Linked DNA regions of Homo sapiens: regions 1, 2, 3, 5, 6 and 7 are each linked to region 4. Evidence: promoter capture Hi-C in 16 types of primary human blood cells and fetal thymus (Javierre and others, 2016). All regions are on one chromosome and are shown on one strand. Each heading gives the region's core, a stretch centred on a gene start or on the middle of the fragment in contact. The rest is flanking DNA. Distances are from core to core; before and after follow the strand shown.

The links. Contacts are between HindIII fragments. The CHiCAGO score rates a contact against its expected background, and 5 or more counts as called.
Region 1: a fragment that was not itself captured here is called in contact with the fragment with the promoter of NREP-AS1 in region 4 in 1 of 17 cell types (M1 macrophages); the score reaches 5.5 in M1 macrophages.
Region 2: a fragment that was not itself captured here is called in contact with the fragment with the promoter of NREP-AS1 in region 4 in 1 of 17 cell types (M1 macrophages); the score reaches 5.5 in M1 macrophages.
Region 3: a fragment that was not itself captured here is called in contact with the fragment with the promoter of NREP-AS1 in region 4 in 1 of 17 cell types (M1 macrophages); the score reaches 5.1 in M1 macrophages.
Region 5: a fragment that was not itself captured here is called in contact with the fragment with the promoter of NREP-AS1 in region 4 in 1 of 17 cell types (M1 macrophages); the score reaches 5.7 in M1 macrophages.
Region 6: a contact is called between a fragment that was not itself captured here and the fragment with the promoter of NREP-AS1 in region 4, in 3 of 17 cell types (M2 macrophages, M1 macrophages and M0 macrophages). The highest score is 5.7, in M2 macrophages.
Region 7: a contact is called between a fragment that was not itself captured here and the fragment with the promoter of NREP-AS1 in region 4, in 2 of 17 cell types (M1 macrophages and M2 macrophages). The highest score is 7.5, in M1 macrophages.

Annotation. Positions count from the first base shown.
Region 1 is chr5:112,119,441-112,122,699 of GRCh38, reverse strand. No RefSeq gene overlaps it. Among named protein-coding and RNA genes, the nearest start is that of EPB41L4A-AS1, 39 kb to the left of the region's middle. The HindIII fragment of the contact is 553 bases long and covers 1,688-2,240 here.
Region 2 is chr5:112,095,407-112,098,745 of GRCh38, reverse strand. No RefSeq gene overlaps it. Among named protein-coding and RNA genes, the nearest start is that of EPB41L4A-AS1, 63 kb to the left of the region's middle. The HindIII fragment of the contact is 442 bases long and covers 1,352-1,793 here.
Region 3 is chr5:111,696,171-111,699,649 of GRCh38, reverse strand. All of the region lies in intron 2 of STARD4-AS1 (STARD4 antisense RNA 1), which reads right to left. Among named protein-coding and RNA genes, the nearest start is that of NREP, 59 kb to the left of the region's middle. The HindIII fragment of the contact is 5,664 bases long and covers 1-3,479 here.
Region 4 is chr5:111,910,447-111,913,771 of GRCh38, reverse strand. It overlaps NREP-AS1 (NREP antisense RNA 1), which reads right to left and starts at 1,264. Exons shown (of 4, transcript NR_046678.1): 1 at 1,052-1,264. It also overlaps a transcript of NREP not described here. The HindIII fragment of the contact is 1,485 bases long and covers 1-1,318 here.
Region 5 is chr5:111,761,581-111,764,828 of GRCh38, reverse strand. It overlaps a transcript of NREP not described here. Among named protein-coding and RNA genes, the nearest start is that of NREP, 6.0 kb to the right of the region's middle. The HindIII fragment of the contact is 8,270 bases long and covers 1-3,248 here.
Region 6 is chr5:112,138,245-112,141,362 of GRCh38, reverse strand. No RefSeq gene overlaps it. Among named protein-coding and RNA genes, the nearest start is that of EPB41L4A-AS1, 21 kb to the left of the region's middle. The HindIII fragment of the contact is 2,507 bases long and covers 564-3,070 here.
Region 7 is chr5:111,675,163-111,678,280 of GRCh38, reverse strand. The region is part of intron 2 of STARD4-AS1 (STARD4 antisense RNA 1); the gene reads right to left. Among named protein-coding and RNA genes, the nearest start is that of NREP, 80 kb to the left of the region's middle. The HindIII fragment of the contact is 2,919 bases long and covers 1-2,837 here.

The DNA.
Region 1 (3,259 bases), core at 715-3,214, 210 kb before region 4:
TAAATACAAAGTTTGGATGTAGTCCAAGGCTTATAGTTTCTGTTATTTATTGAGTTTTCTGCAATGGACATTTTAATAATGGGGAAACAATTATAGTGACACATGACAAGTCTTTATCTTGTAGGTTAGAGAGGAGAATGATATAAATGTTCTCTCCTGTCAGTTTCGTCTGTGACATGAGTAGATCAATTCAATGTGTATGTTCTTCAGATTCTCAAGAGTCTTGGTTCAGCGGAAGGACTGGGCTCATTGTGTGTGTGTTTACTGTCAGTCATTGGTCAAGTGGTGAATATCCTGGGCTCTTGTATTGACATTTTGGGGACTTTCTTTTCTTTTTTTATTTTTAAGCAAATTAAGGTTTGCTAGAGTTAGTGGTTATGTTAGGCTACACAATTTGAGAGGAGAATTGGTAGGATTTGGAAAGGGTTTTTTAACGAAAGCCTCAGGAGAAGTGTCCACTTATATTTTGGAGCATGGACTGAATAGATTAGTCAAAAAGTGGTCAGAAAAATAAGCACTTATTTTTCTTAGTACTCATGTGAGGGCAGAGGGCTGAAAGCAAGAACACAGCCATGTTGCCTAGGAGCCAATTGTAGCATACTGCTAAGCATAGACTATTTTTGATAAATGTTAACCATCTTCAAGATGATAAAAAGATAAGGAAGACAAGCCATATTCTTTCTTTTTATAGGACCAATCAATATCATTTTGTATTTCAACCAATTAACATGCAAAGAGGGGATTCCAAAGAGATACGCAAATATGTTTCCACAAAGAAATCCAATTTAGAAGCAAGAGATTTTAATGTCCTTGCTGGTCACGAGGTCAGGGTTGTATCTCCAGTCAACTGTATCAATTAGTATTGCTCTATATGTAAAACGACCTAATTAAAAAAACCCACTTCCTTAGAGAGATGTGGAAAAGGACACAAGTAATGATTCAAAGAGGCTTTGAAAAGTAGGCAAAGCTACTGTAATCCGTCAGAAATGTATTGACAATTTAGGGTATATTTATCATATCTTCTGTTCAAATGAGCTAAGGACTCACGATGTTGCTTGGACTGTAAAGAAGAATTTATATAAGGTCTAATACGTGAAACTTGTCTTGACATTCAAGTAAAAAGATGTTTAAGGCAAATGAAAGTGCAGGCAAAAATAGGACTGGGGAAAGGGATGAATCACACAGTCAGAGCTGTAAAGACCGTCAGGGGAACAAGATGGATGAGGTCAGCTTGAGAGCTAAGTTGGGAGCCTTGGAGTCAAATGGGAGATGCTATTTCTCATCCCAGCATCCCAGGAAGGATTAACATTCCAGGACTGGAATCATAAAAGTCTCTAAGTATGATGCAAAGTCAGTTAAGAATGAACTAAAACTTGGGCAGGGTGAATATATGAGTAGTAGATGTTGAGGGTGGAGATAGCAGAATAAGTAAAAACTGCAGAAAAACTACACGGTGATTTTTGACAAAAAGTGGTGACAGTACTATGAATACCTGGCAATGAAATAAGCAAACCTGCAAAGCAGGTTCACTGTGAACTAGATATCAACTTGTCTGAGTCTGGTGAGACGAGACACACACACAACACACCACATGAAGCAAGTTTATTACTTACAGATAGGTAGGAAGGGACAACAGAAGTGTAGAATTCATTGCAAGTCAGTCAGTCCCCCAAGGCTTAGGAAAGCTTCCTGTGGAAGATGGAGTCTGCTTCATGTGCCCTATTTGCACTGCAGCTAAGGGACCCAGGAAAGCAGCCCTCACTAGGTTTTATACCCCAGGGTTGCTAGACTCACTGGGCTAAAGCACTGAAGGGCATCCTGTTTCTGGGGGACTGGAACAGAGCCCAGGATGTGCTGGCCAGTATCTCCCTATTTCAGGATGTTACATTCTCAGCACACCCTATCGCTATTCTTGAGAAATAGAAGTGAGAAAGGAGGGATCAGCACAGGGCCAGTCCAACGTGCTGAGAGCTGTCCTGCCAAACCTACCAGATCTAATGGACTTAACAACTTGACTGTGTGTCCACATGAGTGTGAACCAGGAGGCAGGTCCAGCACTCAGTCTCACCATCAACTAGGGTGCAGCCACATCCCACATGCTGGCTAAGAAGGGAGTCCAGGAAGTGGGCATGGAAACTACAGCCCTTGCTTACTTCACATTTCCCTGGAATCTAAGGAGCATGGTAACTCTGTGAGCATTCTTGAAACTGGAATTTTGTTAGGATGATATTTGTTAAGCTTTGTCAGTTATCAGTAGTGAAAATTGTCGGAAAGAAAATGAAAAGCATCATTTGCTTGTTTCAGGGACAGGTAGTATGGGAGAAGTGGGGTGCAGCAGGGTGTCTATCTCAGTCTATAGGGAGAATCGGGGGAGAGAAGTGTCTATAACAGTGATTCTCAATGTGGGTGTGGGGGATTTTCCCCATAAAGGAACATTCTGTAATGTTTAGAGGCATTTTTTATTATCTTGACTGTGGGAGGACATGCTACTGACATCTGGTGGGGAGAGGCCAGGGATGCTACTAAGCTACACTGCACTGGACTACACCTCCTACCTACCCAACAAAAGATTACTGGGTTCAAAATGACAACGGTGTGGAAGTTGAGAAACCCTGGTCTAGAGGAAAGTAGATAGTTCAGCTGAAAACAAGGGAAGTGAATGAGTCTCACCACCAGGCCTGGTGTGAGAAATGGGTGAACTGGGACCCAGTGGGAGGGGAACTGGTACAAAGAAAATAATGTCCCAGGGATGGGAGTAGGGTGGTGTAGAATAGAGTGGGGAGTATTTGGAGGAACATCCTACATTCCTTAACAAATGTATCTGGAGGAGAAGCCAACATCTGTTACTTTAGAGGGGGAGTTAATCTTTTCCCAGTTCCTTTTCTGGAGAGATTTGTGGTCAAAATAATTCTTGTCTAGTTAACTCGCTTTTACCATCTTCAGAGCCAGAAGGAAGAGATAAGATCTACTTCTTCTTTTAGGTCTCCTCTACCTTGAGCAAAATCTTTGATTAACGCTGTTCCTCCCTTGAGCTATCCTTTGCTTCTGTATTTCCTTTAATGGCCACTGAGTGGTTTATGCTTAGTGCCTCTAGTTTCTCCTAGCACAGTCTGTCGTTACCATTCCACTCAGCCTATTCAGTGAAGGTCATTGGTGTCCTCCTCCCTGCTCCACCCAGGCTCATTTGAATAGTTCTTACCCTGACTGCTTCTGTTTGGCAGTTGGCACTGTTGTTTACACTTTTTTTTCTTGGAATTCT
Region 2 (3,339 bases), core at 323-2,822, 180 kb before region 4:
CATTGTACAGCAGATTACAACTATTGGGCAAAACTAGAATGCCATTGTGTACCTCCATATTTCTCTTCCACAAGGGAGAAACACACACACACACACACACCCCTGGAATGACCTTTCAGTTTCAAAGCCACATTTAGATACAGCTTTTATATATATTTCTGAGGGAAAAATTGAGGTGGGAAAAAGGAGGGAAAGAAAATTACTGGTTATACTAGAGATAGATTACTGGAATTTAGGTACATTTACTTAGAGTCATATTTTGGCACAATCACTATAGCTGTCATTGATCAGGTCTTCTCAACTCAGAGATGTACAGGGTTTTCAATATTTGCATTTTGTATTGCACATTGAGTTGTAATTATTTATTATATTGAAACCTTCCACAAGTAATGATAGTGAGGCCTTAAAAATTCTAATGTCTGTGTAGTGATAATGAATAGATTAATTATGCCACGTCTATTGAACTGTGTCACAGAAACCAAACTTGTAAAAATGCAGGCTTAAACTTTGAGATCACAAGTCTGTATCAGCAAGAGTACTTTGATTGCAGGTAACACTAAAGCTGAGGTAAGCAATAGAGGAGACTTAACGGTTTATGTAACTGGAAGTCCCGAGTTAGGGCAGACTTAAGATTGGTTTGATTCACCAATTCAAAAATGGCATGAAGGGCCCCTTTTCCTACCGTTTTCCTTTCCTGCTTTCTTGGTTTCATTTTTATACTAAGGTGGAGTGCCGAAAAGGATGTTGAAACACTACAAAATGTTATGACTGCCAGCTACTCCCAGGATCACAGGCTTCCTCATCCAAATCCAGACAGAGAGGGAGAGAGCTGGCTTCTCAGAGCTCTCGTAGAAATGCGTCCATCAAGTATTTCTGTTATGTCTGAGAAATCATGATTTTTCTAACTTTATTTTTTTATTATTGACATTCTACCTCAAAAGTTTTTCCTTTCCTTCCCTCCTTCCTTCCTTTATTTTTTGTCTTTCTTCCTTTTTCATTTCAATATGGATTTATAGATTATTATTTTATCCAATGTATTATCATCTGCTATGATCATTATTTATTTTAATGCTCAAACTCTCCCAGTTTTGGTCATACTTTGAGCACTTCTTACTTTCTGAAACAATGAGATGTTCTCAGCTCATTTTGTACTTTTCCTATCCTTGCCTTGGAATCAGTCATTTCTCCAAGGTAGTCCTATTCCTTTGAGTGGAGAATAGTGTTTAGAATTTAAGATCTAGGCAGCCACATGTGCTTGTTGCTACTGAGTTGTTTTTAAATCTAGGCCCTCTGTCAGAAGGTGGAGGGAGGGAGGAGGGAGAGGACCAGAAAAAATAATGGGTACTAAGCTTAATACATGAGTGAGAAAATAATCTGTATCACAAACCCCCATGACACAAGTTTACCTATATAACAAACCTACACATGTACCCCTCAACTTAAATAAAACTTAAAAAAATTCTAGGCCCTCTTAGAAACTTAGATAAGAAACACACACACTCACACTCACATAATTTCTTAAAAGATTGATGATATCTTAAAAGGTTTTAGGGTCAATTTGCTATTTAATTGTAGTTGAAAATGAAAGGCAGTTTATTGATCTTATGATTCTAGTTTGGCAAAATATATGTAAAATGAACCATTAAATACCTTTAACCAAGAATAGAATTTGAGCCCCTCGAATGATGTGTCTGCACTTAAAAACTCAACAAATGATCTATTTGTGACTTACGGTCACTAAAGAACTAAAGATTAGACCTGGGCCATCGATGTTAACCAATAAAAACAAAGCTTTGTTTATATCTATATATCTATGTGTGTATCTATTTTGGTATGTGACCGTGAAATAGATTTGAAGTTATCATGTCCATTTTACAGACAGGAAATCAGAGAAGACCCTTAGAGTTTTAGTTACAGTCTTACTAGGATATGCTTTCTGATCATTAGTTCAACTTGTGTTTCAGTCTTTGCTGCTTTGTGAACAATGCAATTTTCCAGGACAACCCCATCATTTTAAGCAGTGAATACCTTTTACACGCTTTCTTTTGGTAACTGCAAATGTCTTGTCAAGGAGTCTAGCTCACTGAGGCTTTCAGAGGCTAGTCAGTATACAAAGTTGTAAAAAAAAATTTGAATCCTGAAATTTAGGAGGCTATATGCATCTTCTTGATATGTACCTCAACAGTGTTTGTCAAGCTTAGGGTCTTCTGCATGGAGTTAGGAAGGTTTCTTAGCTTTCCTTCCAGGAACACTTTCTGGTTACTCATTGGCCTAATTCATAATTGTGTGTTCCAATTTTAAGCTATAGGTCGTGCTTGGTATCAAGTCACAGGACATGCCCTGTGGTGTTGAAATTTGTTAGGAAGTTAGATACGTGGTTCTGTGGAAGTAAGAAATGGCATATATGAGTGATACAATTAATCACAGACGCATAGGCTTCCTTTTTGAGAGAATTTAAAAGATTTTTAAATCCACAGGTACTCCTCTTTCAATAAAGAATCAGTTCAGGATAAAGTTGTAGAAGAATTTCTTCACTCCCTGTGGAGCAGATTTAGACAGCCTACCAGGGGCAAAGTTGGCTTCCTGTATAAAAGGGAAAACATTTTTCAAAGTCTTGTATTTAGATCTTAAGGATTACCCAGTTGACCTAATGCTAAATGACAAGTTAATGGGTGCAGCACACCAGCATGGCACATGTATACATGTGTGACTAACCTGCACATTGTGCACATGTACCCTAAAACTTAAAGTATAATAAAAAAAAAAAGGATTACCGAGTTGAAACTTCTTAATTAAAAGCAGGAAGCAAATAATGTGCTAAAGGGTGGTAGAGAGATCCAGGAGATATAAGAAAGAGTGGATATTTATAGCTTTCTTTATAAAAGAAAACGTGTAAACTACTTGAACCCTCTTAAAACACTTCAATCTAATTAACTCTCACCATTATATTTCAGTGAGATTAATTTAGAAATATTCTTAAGTTCTATATTCAAAAGAAGAATGAAAAAATCCATAAATTATGGTTGACTTGTGTGTTAACTGAATTCATTTAGGGTGACTCTGTTTAGTAAGTATATATTACATCTCTAACAGGTACTAGTCACAAGACATTAAAATTTTTTTATTTTAATTTTTGTGGGTACATAGTAGGTGTATATGTTTATGGGGTACATGAGATATTTTGATACAGGCATGCAATGCATAATAATCACATCATGTAAAATGGGGTATCCATCCCTAAAGTATTTATCCTTTGTGTTACGAACTACCCAATTATACTTTAGTTATTTTGAAATGTACAATTAAATATTCTTGACTAGTCACCCATTGTGCTATCAA
Region 3 (3,479 bases), core at 865-3,364, 210 kb after region 4:
CAAACTGATGCTGTGAATCCATCTCTAGTGGCCACTAAGTGTGTTAATTATTCAGAACCACTTTTCTCTACAGAGTAGAAATTTTTCTTGAGAGGGTGAAGGGCGTGACTGTTGAGCAATGCCTGGGAAAAAGAATGTGGGTCCTGGAGTTTCAAGCATAATTGGGTGAAGAAGTGGGAGGGGCACTCTGTATGCAAGGAGACAAATGCACAGCAACAAGAAAGAACAAGTTAAGGAACAACTGTGGAGAAAGCAAGCAGGGAGGTTTAGGGCAGGCTAAGGAGCATCTCTAATATGGGGCCATGGTGTTTGAACCTTTGTAGGGAAAACACTGAAGGAGTTTGAGGAGGCCAGCAACATCATGTGTCATCTGTATTCCTTTGTTCTCTGAAGAATGAATGTGCAAAGCTACCAAGTGCCATTTAGCTGCTCCAGGGGCTGGCTGGTAAAGAACATGGACAATTCCTGATACAGAAAGACAGGCGTACCCTCGGGCTTTTTGGATGCATAGCTCATGTGTTTAGACCTGTTATTTTGGCATGCAGAAAGCTGACCTGCATGGTTTTGAGTCTAGGGTGGCATAATGGGATGGACAGAATGGTGAAGAAGTACTTGAGGACCATACAGTATACTGTAATGAACACTGAACTGGAAGTCAGGGGACTTGAGTTCTACATACAACTTCCCAGCAATGAGCTATATACCATGCAAACTTAAGCAAATTAATACCATGTGTCTCTGGGACTCAGTTTTCCCACCTGTGAAATAAGGGTGTGAGGTGGACCATGTTTGGCAAGGGTGGGATATGCAGTTCAACTGTGCTGATGACACCTGAAGCATTTTCACTGTGACTCTAGGCCTGGAAACCCTGGGTTTCTGGGCTGACAACGATGCTTATAACAGGCAACATTGTACAGCTCAAGTTTCTCTTCACCCACTCCTCACTAAGTGATCACATGCCTTAGTTTCTTTCTTTGCAAACAACAAGTCACTGAGCAAACCTTACTGGCTATTTGGTCCAACAGCACAAGCCAGGAGTTCAGAGCCAGGACTAATGAATACCACTGCTGAGTTGCCAGATGGGAGGCAGGGGGCACTGTCGGATGGATGGTGTTCTTGAGAACATGGTTCTTTGCTGAAGACTGAGTGGAAGAAAGCAGAAAGGGAGACCACAGAAAGAGGAGAATACAGCAAAGTATGTTTGATCACCTATGCAGAGACACAGTAAATTGAGAAGCAAATAGCTTTAAATAAGCAGCTAAGTTTCTCACAGATTATAAGAAAAACTGGGCTTCAAAAAATTACCGAGTATTCCCCAAAAATTCACGTTTATGATCAACATTAATCTTCAGATTTCAAGGACTGACCATATGAGTCATCCATTAAGCAAGGATTTCTGAAGCAGCCCTGGGCTAAGGGCTCTTCTAGCTGTAGAAATTGGAAATCAAGATTTCACAGGCAACCCAGGGTCAATGTTGAGAGTTCAGTTTGTGTATTTTGTTGGAAAATATTCGAATACCAGGCTTTCTTCCTGAGACTGGATGTGGGGCAGGGAATTTGGCAAGATTTAGAGTTAATTCAAGTTCAGACACTGGCAGGAGAGCGACTTTGACACAGGAAAACCTTTTTGACGGCTAAATATACAGACAACACTGCCTTTCTTCCCTGAAAAACTTTGATGGTTGTGCCTCATTGAAGCCTTCCAGGGAGATTTAACAGAACAATTTCTTGTGGTTCTGTCTAGCTTTTATGATTTGATGAGTTAAATAGGTCTCCCTAGATGTCATCCTCAACCAAGGAGACTAAAGGAGAGCCCAGGGTAATGCCAGGTCATGTTACAGTATAAGAATAAAAGCCACGGGAGACAACTTGGTAGAAAAATCATCATTTTTTAAACTTTGTTTTTTGCTGTTTTGATGCAAGAGAATCAGTGAATTAGAGAAATAAGCCTGGGCCAACTAAGCCTATTACTACAGGGCCTTTGGCTATTACTTGCTGACAGATTGCTTCTGACTCAAAAATTCAGAAATTGCTCACTATTAACTGCATACTTGATGCTTATGCCAATAATATTCTTTGTTCCAGAAAGTAAAATTCGGAAAACTCTGAGGGGACTTTGAAGTAAACTGTGAAGCAAGTGGCATATCAGCATCCTGGATGCTTTGTGTAATTTTCTCTGTCACCATTAACAAGAAGAATGAAGTACTGGCAACCTGCCAGAGAAATGTTCAGTGACGGTTTGAGCGCTTCGCCTTGAGTGCGTTTGAATGAAGTATTGGATGCCTCCAGAGGTATTTGGGAAGTGAGTGTAGGAAGCAGATTTGCCTGCAGCACAACTTGTCATCTCTTAACTGTGCTCCTACATGCTGGGCCTAGAGGCAGGAGCTTCCTTCCTTTCCCGATTTTACCCTTGCAGTCCTTTCCATCCTCCCACTCCTGTGACCTTTAATGTAGGTCTCTCTATTAAAATCTTCTAGAGAAATAGCATCTAGAAGACAGCCTAGGGTTTCTAGAAAGACAGTCAGTTAAAGATGATGCCACGCTTTGCAGAGGGTTAGGGAGAGTATCAGAGTAAGGAGGAAAGAGGCTGTTACCCTGACATCGACGTCCATCATGTCGTTGTGTTTTTCAACACTTTAGGGCTGAAATATGAATGCATTTTAACATCTGTATGAACACCTGTTACGGGCTGAATTGTGCCCCCCACCCTCCCCCAAGTTCATATGTTGAAGCCCTAGTCCCCAGTACTGTGGCTGTATCTGAAGATAAGGTTTTTAAAGAGGTGGTTATAAGGCCATCAGGAGGGGCCCTAATCTCATATGCCTGGAGTTCTTATGAAGAGAAAGAGACACCAGGGATGCACATGAACAAAGGAAAGGCCCTGTGTGAGGACACAGAGAGAAGATGGCCCTCTGCAAGCCAAAGGGAGAGGCCTCAGGGGAAGCCAAGCCTGCCAGCACCTTGATCTTGAACTCCTCAGCCTCCAGAACTGTAAGAAAATAAGTGTCTGCTGTTTAAGCCACCCAGACTGTGGTATTTGTTACGTTAGCCCTAGCAAGTTAATTCAGCTTTAATGCCGGCAAACTCTCCCACTTTCTGGGTAATTTTTCCTTTTAATTCAAACAATGATGACAATAAACAAACATAATAATAGTCCCATTCTGTGCAATGTGGAAATGTGGTCATACAAGATTCTTCTCTACCCTCCTACTATCTTTAAGTAAATTTTGGAGAATTCTCTTAGGAATGCTTTTATGTTCCATTAAACTACTCGGTCATCTCTGGAACCCCCAGCCAGCTTTCTTGCTCTGGACTGGTATTTTTTTTCTCCCAGTCATTCATCTTTTACCATCTCATAACTTGCTTCCTCCTTAGGTATGGACATTAGATTCTCTCATATGGGCATTGCTAATTCCTTGAAGTACCAGCTAAGACTATGCAGCAATGTTTACCAAAGGATTGTTGTAGTACTGGGCATG
Region 4 (3,325 bases), core at 15-2,514:
CAAATCCAGAGACGGGGAGAAGGTAGAGCTGGGAATTCATTTTTCTCCCTACAAATCTTAATTATTCCTCAAAATATTTGTGAAGTAGGAAAGCATGTTTTCAGCACCCATTCCTCACTATCATCCTCTTACCCAATTGTCTGATTAGTTCCTCCTTTTATCTTTTGTTACTGTCTCATCTGGGCATTTAGCCTCCTCATTTTACTCTTCAGTCACTTAGGACCCTGAACTATGAACTCACATCCCTGTTAATCTGGGAAGATGTCTATCCTTTGAATCTTTTCAACTTCCTTTTCTCACATCAAAATATAGTGATGCTGGGTTCCATTTATTCAAGGTCATTCTTTTTCTTCTGCTAGGAAACAGCTAGATTATCTTGCAACCTAGTCTGCTGTAATGGATTAATGAAAGGCAATGTGCTAGTTCCTTATCTCCTGAAAAACACCTGAAAAATTTTAGAAGGATATTTTATAAGACCGCTTTTAAAATGAAGTAGTGCAAAATAGCAGAAAGAGTAAAAGAATTTAGAATTTGAAATTAGAGTGACATGGGATCCATGACTCCTATTCATTTCCTAAGAAATCTTCTACAAATTACTTAACCTCTCTGAACCTTCTATCCTGCCTTTACTGTAAAAAATGGATACTAACACTTACCTTCAACTTTTGTTGTGCTGTAAAATGAAAAATTGTAAAAGTACTCAAGATATTGGCTGCTGTACAGTAGGTGTCTTACACATTGTAGCTAATAAGTAAACAATATTGTAAGCCAAATAAGTGACTCAAAATCAATTACTGGTCAATGCTAATAATCTTAATGAACAAATATTTCTTAAACACTTTGTGTAGGAAGAAAAAAATACAAGTGGTACCTATGAAATAATATTCTACTTTACCTAGGCACGATGCCAGTTCTTCTCCAGCTATTCATCAAACAACCAACTATTCCTTCATTTATTGATTAACTTATTCATGTACCTATTAAGTGCAGAAGGCTGGACTGGGTAATATGAAGAATACAAAGATGTATACATAATCCTGTATTGACTTACTGTTGAATGTGACAGAATATTCAGGTATTTTGGATAGGTTAGAAAGATATCTTGATCCTGTCTTCAGTTATTAGCCTAATAAGAATGGAAACAGCTTGCAAAAGTAAGACGCAAGTAGGGTAGCAGCAGGCTCATCTGGGGAATTACTGGTCTGAAGTTTGGGCACAAATTATTGGAGCCAAAGAAGAGAGAAATCTATATCCTTTAGGAAAGTTGAAGTAAAGATCATTTTCAGAGATACAGATAGAATAGATTATGACTCAAGCTTCAGTGGCAAGGTGTGTATACAGTCACAATATATAGAAAACAGACTAGTAGTCAAGGGCACCAGGGGACAGGGCAGGCAAGGTGCAGGGTGGATGAAGTGAGGAGGGTCAAGAAGTAATTCAGATCTGTCTGAATTATAGCAGGGCAGACCCTAGCTCATTTTGCCAGGGTGGGTTTTAGTCACTTACGGAAGCCACACCATTCTGGATGAGGGAATTGGGGAGAAGAGCATGATGAAAAAAGGGTGCAAGGAAAATACTGGAGAATGTTACCATACGAATGTGTGCACAAGATGAAAGAAAAATTAAACTGGCCAACAAAAGTTCAAGGAATGCTCTAATTTAAATATTAGATATTCTAGCATAAAATTTGCAATTCAAGAGAAGCTGGTTCTCCTAAATTTACATCTTTATAAGGTAGACAGACAGGAATTTATATTTTGTCTTTGGCACTTATCAATCGTGTACCATTAGACAAATTATTTAGCCTCCCCACAACTTAGTTATCCCATCTGTAAAATGGGGTGAAGACTAGTACTTGCTTATAGGATGGTGGTGGGCACTACCTGAAATGCTGTGTGTATATGGCTCAGCACAGTGCTAGGTACATAGTAGGTAGGCAATGAGTATAAATTATTTTCGGTTTGGATTCTATGTCTATGCAGAGGTCTCCTCAAGCTTTTGCAACTTGTCATATAATTGGTGTCTATTTTTATGTCTTTTAGATGGTCAAAAAAATAGACCCTCTCACCAAAGTCAAAAAGAGGTCAGATTGAGCCTGAATAATAGTAGCACACTTATGAGTCATTTAATTTCTTTGACATCTCCTTTTCTCATCTAGTTGTGAATTATTTATGACATCTGTGCTCTTGGGAAGAAGTCCAAGCATATAACATATCTCCAGCTCACTCCTGGAGGGTCTTTCCAAGGCCCAGGGTTTCTGCCACTTAGTATGTGCTTACTCAATATTGTCTTGATTAATGGCATTGGAAGTAGAGATAATAGCAGTGCAGAATTAATGGGCTAGATACTTTGTTATTGAACACAATTGTGTAGGGTTGAACTAACAAATAGGTAATGCTTCTGCAAAGTGTGTAAGTAAAAAATATAAAATAAGTAAATAGATTATATATTCATCAGTCTATTTAGAAAAACTTACTGAGTAGCTACTATGTGTCAGACACTGTTCTATGCACTGGTAATATCCAGAACTCTGGATGCAGATATGATATCAAGAACATTGGGTACAGGGGTGATATCCAGATTGCTGGGTGCCGGGGTGATATCCAGAACACTGGGTGCAGGGGTGATATCCAGATTGCTGGGTGCAGAGGTGATATCCAAAACACTGGGTGCAGGAGTGTTATTGAGATCACTGGGTACAGGGTGATAGCCAGGATACTTGACAACCAGTGTCCCTAGAGCATTAGTCAGAACTGACAGTGGTGGTGCTCAAACAGTATCCTGGAGGTGCTCTTCTCTGCCAGGTATGAGCCTTCTGCCAGGTGATGCCTCTCTGAAGCTTCTAGTACCAAGAAGGGGCTGGAGCAGTAGGAGATCATTTGGAGGAGTCACAATAGCAGCTATCCATGAACTAGTCAGAAATAACTTAATATTTTGAAACTTTTGCTTTAATAAGCTGAGCAAACTCTCGCTTCTGGCTGTGACCAAGATAGATAAGGTCCCTTATCACAGGGCTTCCTTTTGGAGGTAAACTTGGTGGCATCAGAGGGTTTCTGTCCTGGGGGAGCTTTGAGTTTGTTCCAGTCTCAGAAGCCAAGTTCCTCAGCTCCACAGCCTGGTGCTTTGATAGTGCCCAAATCTTCATGCCTAAACCCATACTCGGCAAGCATTTTTTATCCTTAGCACCTTTCAGACTTTTTTGAATCTTATATTTACATACAATATATAATTTTCCATAAGTTTCTTCTCAGGAAGAAAACCATTATAAATATGTGGGTCTTTCTAAGTTATTCCATTCTTAAGGCCTTTTTGGTTGTGAGAACAC
Region 5 (3,248 bases), core at 507-3,006, 150 kb after region 4:
ATGAATTCCAGAGGACCATACCATCTAATGTCTGAAGTTTCTGTCAGGGGTTTACCTTCTTGGGTATCATTACAAGAATAAAAATACTACCCTAACATTTGAAAAGAAAAACCTCCTTATTATTATGTTTTTAAGAACCTCATTCTAAAGGCAAAGATCTTTCACCTTTGATATAGTTTGGCTGTGTCCCCATCCAAATCTTGTCTTGAATTCCCACGTGTTGTGGGAGGGACCTGGTGGGAGGTAATTTAATCATGGGGGCAAGTATTTCCCATGCTGCTCTCGTGATAGTGAATAAGTCTCACAAGATCTAATGGTTTTATAAAGTGGAGTTTCCATGCACAAGCTCTCTCTTTGCCTGCTGCCATCCACGTAAGATGTGACTTGCTCCTTCTTGCCTTCTGCCATGATTGTGAGGCCTCTCCAGCCATGTGGAACTATAAGTCCATTAAACCTCTCTTTCTTTTGTAAATTGCCCAGTCTCAGGTATGTCTTATCAGCAACATGAAAACAGAATAATACAGCCTTCAATCAGCCCTTTCTTTTTGGGCCAACCCCCTCCTTCCATCTCTGCCTCTGAACTGAAGCAACTTCACAACTAGTGGTCAGCTGAAGAAGGTGCCTAAATGGAGCACCTGAAAGCATAACCCTGGATGCTGCAGGCCCTATTGAATCCTAAGTTCTGAGGCTAAGGTCAATGGAACAGGATAGTATTTTGCCTAGCTGTCAAGATGCTTAAGTTAACTTCAAAATTATATTTAGTATGTATGGAATTTGTTTTAACCATGGCATCATATCAGGGGATATGTACATATAGAGGTTTTTTTTGTTAATCCACCGTTTGGTTGGTAAGACAAGCACTACCTTGTCTATAACCAGACAGTATATATGTTATCAGCTTCTTAGAGCATGTTTCTGCATTTCCCCAGTGTTACAGAAAATACCCATTTATAATTGTAAAATTCAAAAAATTCTTCCAGGGGGAACAAACATTCTACTTTGTTAATGCAAATTCGTTAACACAAATAAGCATGCGCGTGCGCGCACACACAAACACACACACACACACACACATACAGACGTACTGGGATTTTAAAATAATTTCTTTTTCTTGTTTTAGAACAGCATTAACTACCAGTATTATTTTTACAGTTTTGTACCATGATGCAGATCAGTTTTAAGGCAAGAAGGAGGATAATTTTAAAATGTGTTTCATATGGTCTGTTTTGCGTGGTAGGATAATCTGGATAAATCTTCCTTTGAGACATTCCTTTCGTTTATCTCTTTGTTTCTGCAACAACCTCCTTGTTCTTCACCTCCAGGAGGACAAACTTGACTTTTCCAGGGATTTACAATTATTTCCAGGTGTTGAGTAAAATACAAGATTGAAAGCACCATAATTTTCAAAAGTTCCTCACATCTTACATTTGTCCTTTATCTTTTAAATGCTCTGTTCATCATATTTTATAGAGTCATGTAGGTTGTAAGTCCTCCTGTGTTTGCTTTTGCATTCATATTTCACAATTTGCTAAGTTTACATCTATTTTTCCTCCTCTCATTGTCAGCATCCCCAGTGTCAATGGCTGAGTTCCTGATATTTTGTGTTCCTCCCTGAGACTTACTGAATCGTCTAATACGAAGACACTGAGCATACTCTTGGTGTGGGTTTCTCAGTGATGAAGGGGAGAATCTCTCATCTGTGCTGCCTTCAGCAGCTGTGTAAATACAGCTGGAAACTTGAAAGTGGACAGGGTCAATTGTAAATCGGTTTCCTTTCCCTTATGTGTTTTGGAATGCTGTTCTGAGAAAAACGAGCCGTGAATTTTAGTGGAGCCCTCCTGACTTCAACTTTTATACACATATGTAAGCAACCTTCTGGGTTTGGATAAAGCCCTGGACGTATAACTTCTTTAGCTTCAGGCTCTTCCTCAGACTTTGCATTGTAGAATATCCGAAACCTCATAACAAATGCAAATACTACAAATCCTTTACTCTTCCACATGTTTGCTGCAAGGGCGGTCTATTAGTTTCCCACGGTTGCGATAACAAAGTACCACAGACCGGAGGGCTTAAACAACAGGCATTCATTTCTTTACAGTTCTGGAGACTAGAATTCTGAGATCTAAGGTGTCACTGGGGTTTGTTTCCCTGGTGTTAGATGTGTTTCTTCCCACATCTTCGTGTGGTCTTCCCTATGTATGTGTCTGTGTCCTAATCTCTTCTTAGAAAGACACTGGTCACTTCAGGTTAGAGCCCGACCATATGACCTCATTTTACCTTAATTATCTCTTTAAAGACCCTATCTCCAAATACAGTCACATTCTGAGGTACTGAGAGTTCAGATTTTAGCATGTACATTTTGGGGGTGGTGTGTGGGGGGAGGGGACACAATTCAGCCCATAACAGGAAGGAAGCATGAGGAAAAGGGAGCTGGTGATAAGAAAATTACTCAAAGATAGCTACTGGAACATCATTGAATATGTGTGTTATACATTCAACAGGTATAAAATTGAACTCAGTGTCACCCACTGATCCTCCCATAGACACTTTTCTTCCTGTATTTTCTGTTTTAGGAAATCCCATCATCATCCAAGCAGTCACAAAGCCAGAATCTAGAATCATCTTAGACTCTTTTCTCCAGCTAATCTCCTGTGCTTTCTGAACCCATAATGAGTCCTGCAATTCTAACTCCATAATGCAACTTGACTCCTTCCCTCTTTTCCTTTCCCATGCCCTCCATCTTAATTTGGGCCATTCATATTTACTCATGTGAATTACTCTAATATTCTCTGAAATTGAACTCATTTCCTCATTTCTGCCCCTTCTCCGTGCTCAAATCCATCCGCCAAATTACTCTCAGAATAACCTTCCCTGGAAAAAAAAAATCTTGTCACTTTCAGATTACATTTCTTCTACAGTTTTGCATTACTTTAAGAATAGCATTCACATTTCTTAAGCATGAAATACAATTCTTTCCCTTCGGTCTGATTGGTTGAACTTAGGTCACCTGCTTATTAGCCCATTATCAGATCCAATTCAATACACTGATTGGCTAAGATAATTAGAATCTATTCCTTGGCGTCACCTTCCCTGGATCTAGCAGGCTGTATGGGAGGGATGGAGACCAGGACAAAAATCAAGATTTCGTTGAGAAGGAAGAAAGGGATAATGGATGTTACATATGCGATCAACAATGTATCCTGCGATCTGTTCCTTCATGGAATTTATAGTCTAGTGGTGAAGACAGA
Region 6 (3,118 bases), core at 568-3,067, 230 kb before region 4:
TATTCTCATCACCAGTGGGGACCAGACTGGGATTACACTTTCCCTGACAGGTTTCTTAAGTGATTTGTTTTAAGACAAGGTGTGCATTCTGTGTTCAGAGCCACACAGAATCTTGGATTTGGAGAATCAGTTTCCCCTCTGTTCTGTTAGCCTTCATCTGCATGCTAGCCTTGGATGACTCTGAAAAGAGAGTGTGGCCATTCGGCCTCTAGGTCAGCAAGGTTTGGTCTAGAGTCAAGCCAGGATCTTAGGGCTGTGGTACCTGACATTACTATATTCCATGTTTGATATTTGGTATTTGGTTGTCACCTAACTGCAGACCTCTTTCCCTAACATCAAAAAGGTACAGAATTCTAACCATAAGAATAAGAATTCTATATAAACCCAAATCACTTTTCAATATGGACCATTTGAGACAATAGATCTTTTTATAATATTAAGGAAAACAACCCAATGAAAGTAAAAGAAACCCTCAGATCAGTATCTATTAGATACAAATGTGCCTCAGAAAGGTGACCAAAAAAATGTTCAGGAAGGGCAACCCTGCTTAATCAATTTAAGCTTTTAAATTACAGGTTTGAGCTGAAGCAATTACTTTATTGATAAATATAGAGAAAATGCCAGCCATTGGAACCACTTAACTTGCATTTGTTCAAAGCACTAAATCAATTAGAGAAAATTTTGTAAAGTTTGGAATTTTACTGTAATGTTACACACACTCAGAATGAAAGGGTTGTTGAATCTGCATATAGATATATATATAATATAGTTACTGTAATGTGACACATACTCCAAATGAAAGAGCTGTTGAATCTGCATATATATATATATATATATATATATATAGTTTTGCAGTAGTTGACTTCCTTCCAAATCTGCAATTTAAAAAAGGAAGAATAGTAACCAAACATTAAAACAATTTTACATCCTTTATCTTCAAGTTTAGTTGAAGATATTTGAAAAGTCAGGATAGTTTTTCGTCTTTAGTGGCTTAGACATGTGTAGAAAACCAGAATATAATTCAGGTATTTTCTACAGTATTATTGTTACTAAGTATTATTCTTTACAAATTTATAGATAACAGCTGCCTCCAATTTTGCTGTCTACAAAGAGATATCCATCTGTGGTGGCTTCCTTTTACTCTTTGAGTTTCTGAATTTTTATATCATAGGCGAACTTTGCTCATATATGTATTTATTTTTAATTTTTTAAAATATCCCTTTTAATTTGGAAAAACTTCAGATGTACAGAAAAGTTGCAGAGTGTATAGCAAGGTCTTGTATATGCTTTACAAATTTCCTTCTAATGTTAACATCTGTAGTGGGCTGGACTGTGGCCCCCAAAATATGTTCATATCCTAACTCCCAGAGTCTGTGAATGTGGCCTTATTTGAAAATAAAAGGTCTTTGTAAATGTAATTAGGTTAAGAATCTCAATATGAGATTATTTTGGGTTGTCCACTGTGGGCCTTAAATCCAATGACAAGTATCCTTATAAGAGACACACTGAAGAGAAAATGCAGGGAGAAAAGGGAAAAGACTAGTTTTTCTACTGATATCCCTTTTCTGTTTTAGGATCCAATCCTGGGTAGTACATTGCATTTAGTTGTCATGTCTCCACAGTCTCCTTGTGGTCCGTGATAGTTTCCTAGTCTTTCCTTGTTTTCCATGATCTTGATAGTCTTAAGCAGTACTGGTCAGGTATTTTGAAGAATATCCCTCACTATGGGTTTGTCTGCTGTTTTGCTCATGATTAGACGAGGCTGTGGGTTATGGGAGAGAGTATCACAGAGGTGAAGTGCCCTTCTCATCACATCATATTAGAGAATATAGTATACCTATCCACATGACTTATCACTGGTGATGTTAATCTTGACCACTTAGATAAGGTAGAGTTTTCCAGTTTTTCTTACAGGAAAGTGACTATAGGTTGAGCTTTCCCTAATCCAAACATTCAAGATTCAAAACACTTCAATATTTGAAATTTTTGAATGCCAATATGATGCCACAAGTGAAAAATTTCATATCTGTCCTTATGTGCTAGGTCCCGGTCAAAATGCAATCACATCACACACAGTTTATTCAGCATCCCAAAGGGAAGAAAGAGACTTGAGCCCTCTTCAGCTGCAATATATATTTTCTGTACATGCCCAGTTTCCTCCATGCAAGCACACAAAAGAAGTGTAATAAAATGGCACATGTGCAGGCCAGACATGCCATTGGCAGGTTCCCCCCAATGCCCTATGTGAGGCCAAGATTTATGTGCATTCCTTACTGTGTTTTTTTTGCTTATTCTATGCTCTGTGGTGTGAAGATATTGTTGAAAATGTCAAAAAAAAAAAAAAAAAACCGCCTGTTTATACCCCTTGGGCAACAGTGGTAAGGAAAAGAGAAAGCATTTTTACTTATCCATAGCACAGAAAGTCAAGCTGTTGAAGAGACCAGGTAGCAGTATAAGTGTGAAACATTTTACAGAAGGGTATAGTATTGCAATGACCACCACATATGACCTAAGAAACAGAAGGATAAACTGTTGAAGATCTATGTGGAAAGTGGTGGACAGAAGTTAATGAGAAATAGAAAAACACTGCATAAAGCTGAACATGAAGATCTTGATCATGTGTGAACAGAGTGAATCCATCAGCACTGCAGTGAACATGTGCCACTTAGCGGTATGGTAATCAGGAAACAAGCAAAGATCTATCACAACGAACTGCAAGTTGAAAGGAACTGTAAATATTCAACAGGCTGGTTGCAGAAATTTAAGACATTGAAGAAAAGACTTGGCATTAAAGATTTGTGGTAATAAAACATCTGCTGCTCATGAAGCAGTGGAGAAATTCATTGACGAGTTTCCAAAGGTTGTTGCTGATGAAAATCTAATACTAGGACAAATCTATAATGCTGATGAAACATCACTGTTTTGATGTTATTGACCCAGAAAGACAACGACTACAGCTGATGAGAAAGCCCCTAGAGGAATGAAAGATACCATGAACAGAATATCTGTGCTCGGATGTGTTAATGCAGCACACACACATAAATGTACACTTGCTGTGTAGGCAAAAGCTTGTGTCCTTGCTGTTTGCAAGGAGTCAATTTCTTACTAGTTCATTATT
Region 7 (3,118 bases), core at 129-2,628, 240 kb after region 4:
TAAAATGATAAACTAGAGTTTATAAAAACTTCATTGAACTAAAAATATCACTGTCCTAGACTAAGTTTAACCTGGAATGAGAAAGAAGATAAGGTATCTGTTCCAGAAAGATTTTGTAGCATGTGTATGTGTGTGATAGGAAAAAGGCTTGAAGAAGAAGAGGGGAAAGACCAGGAAAGGTTATGTAGTATGAGAATAAGGTAGGCTCTATGCTTGCACAGATTTCCCATCTGCTGTACATCTTCTTTCCTCTCTTTGTTCCTAAGGAAACTTCTCTGTCCCCTTTCATGGAGTCATAACAATGGAAGAGGTTCAGGAGAAAGGAATCAGCTCCTTGCAAGGTAAAAAGAGTTAAGAGGGTTTTTTTGTTGTTGTCATTGTTTGCTTTTAAATACTATAATTTTAAAACAATGTACTGGGAAGAACACTGCAAATGGAATTCAGGAGATCAAAGAAACCTGGGATAAATATCTCGAATTCTCTCAGGCTCAATTTCCTACTCTATAAAGTCTGGTATTTGGTAGCATTAGATGACTTCTAAGATTTCCTCCATTATACTTACATTATAATTTCTGCTCTACTTCATGAACTGGAAGGGACCTTAGGGCCCGTCAAAACCCTGAGCCAATATAAGAACATTCTCTGGGATAATTCACAAAGTGTGTTACATTTTATGAATAAGTGTTTTTAATGCCTTAGTATAAATTGGTACTTTTTTTAATATAAAGGAATTGTGGACCAGAAGAGTGGTTTTCTTCGTCATGTTACTAAAATTGAGTTCCATCAGTTTTGTGTGCGAGTACATTATTTATCCACCAAAAACCTCAAAACTGGGGCTACAAGCAGAGTTTCTCAGAAGTTCCTTGTAAAGAAGTATAAGGGCTAAGCCATTGCTACACCTTTGCCAGGTGATGTTCAAGGATAAATGCTTTTAGGGTTGGGGGGTTATGCTAGTGGCAACAATAGAGATACCCCTAAACTGCAGGTGCTCAATAACTGCAAAATTTTGTTTCTTGCTCATGTGAAGTCACGTGGGTCAGCAGAGCTCTCTACTATCCAGTGACTCAGGGGTGAAGGCTCTCTCCATCTTGTCTGCCAGCACTTCAACATATGACTTTAAGTTCTTCTGATCAGGAGGAAGAAGGATACGGGAGACACAGCAACAGTTAGGAACCTAGGACCAGAAGTGCCATGTCACTTCTGCTCTCATTCCTATCTGCCAGAACTCTGTCACATGGTCCCAACCCAGCTGAAAGGACCTGGAAAATGCAGGAAAGCACATGTCTATTCAGTGGGCACGAGTTGTCTCTGGATGAATTGATGCAATCAGGGACATAAAGCCACCAAGTGAGAGCAATTCCCTGCCTTGTGTGTTTGGAATAAATGACCAAAAGTCTTGGTTTTTAATCTGTGGCTTCTTTAAACTATTTTTATTCTAAAAAACACTTAGTTTTGAAAAACTGAGGGAACTTTGCTAGGAAGTGTGTCTTCTAAACTCTTCTTCATCACATCTGGAGAGGGAGTTGCCTTTAAGTGGCTGCATCACACTGTTGATTCATCATAAAGTTTAAGCCAACAAAAATCCCGATTTAATTGTTGGGAGAAATTGCTGCCAAGCCAGACCTTCAGATCCTGTAACTGTGCCATTTATTTTGCTTTAAACCTAAATGTAAGACTTTATATTTATTCTAAGTGTCATCCTGTTATTTTCAGACAATTGCTTCAGCCTTCTGAATTTTTAATTCAGTCATCTACTGTAATATCTATTTCTTCAATATTTGCATCATACAGCAATTTGGTGAGCATATCTTCTGTGTCTACATCCAAGTTCTTGAAAAACTAGGCCAAGGGCAGAGCCCTCCAATAGAACCAGAGACCTCCCTTGAGAGGCATCACGATTCATTAATAAACACAGTGGGTTTATTTGTTCCACTAGCTTCAAATCCTCCTTACCTTATTATCAACCAGTTCACATTTCTCCAATTTCTCAAGGACTTTTAAGATTTCATAGCACATCTAGATGAAAACCGAACTCGTTATCTCCCTTCCTAAGCCCCCTCCTTCTCCTGAATTATCTACCCATTAATGGCACCACCATTCAGCCCACTGTGCCAGCAATCTGGGAGCAATCCCACAGTCTCTCTCCTTCCTCTCCCTGAGAAGTGAACTTGAGTCAGTCCTGACACTTCGCAACTGGGGCTGCCATCCCCTCAAGCCTGTACCACTGCTTCCAAGGTTTTCTGTGGGTCTCTGGGCATTCCTCCTCCAGTCTATCCTCTTCATCTTCACTCAGTGATCTTTCAAAACACAAGTCACATCATATTACACCCTCTGATGAAAACCCATTGAAACTCCCCAGTATAAGGAAAATGTTAAAAATATTTAACATGTAGTTTGGCATAGGCAATGACCAAACAGAAGGCCAGCAGGGCTACTCCAGATGGAAAGCAGGGCACCTTCTATTCTCAGATCCTAAATGTTTCTAGGTGGCACCCTTCCATCTCCTCAGCCTCCATGCAGAGGTTTCAGCAGACCCCACATTTGCATCTGAACACGCTAGCTCTGCTTTCTCAACTTTCTCAAAGCTCCTCCCTCAACACAGAAAGGGTCTTTCTCCTCTGAGGCAGGAAAGCATTTTATACATTCAACCCCATGCCCTGGTTTTTGGTAGAAACTGGTCAGTCTTCCAGGTTTTACTCTATTGAAGCAGAGCCAAGGTTTTAGAATTTGAAAATAAATGAAATAAATAAAATAAATGAAATAAAATAAAATATATAAAACAAAAGATAAGCTCCACTCCCTCTCCCCCAAAGGCCAGGTGCTTAGAAATTAAAGCTTTCCAGGCTTTCTTTTTATATTCTCAGCCAGTAATTTGACTCTGTTCTGGCTGGATTCTTTTGTGTCTTTTCTTCTCTGAGGCAATCAGCCTAAGTTTCTCTGCCTGGTTAAATGGTGAAAAGACCACAAAGTAAAAAGATTTTCCGAGAAACAAGGTGACTTCTCATAATATTTCAAAATATCATCCCAATTCTTTGTTATTCCATGCACCTATACTACAAAATTCAGCTTCATGTAGGCAGGGTCCACTATTTGATTCATCTCTGTTTTTCCAGTGCCT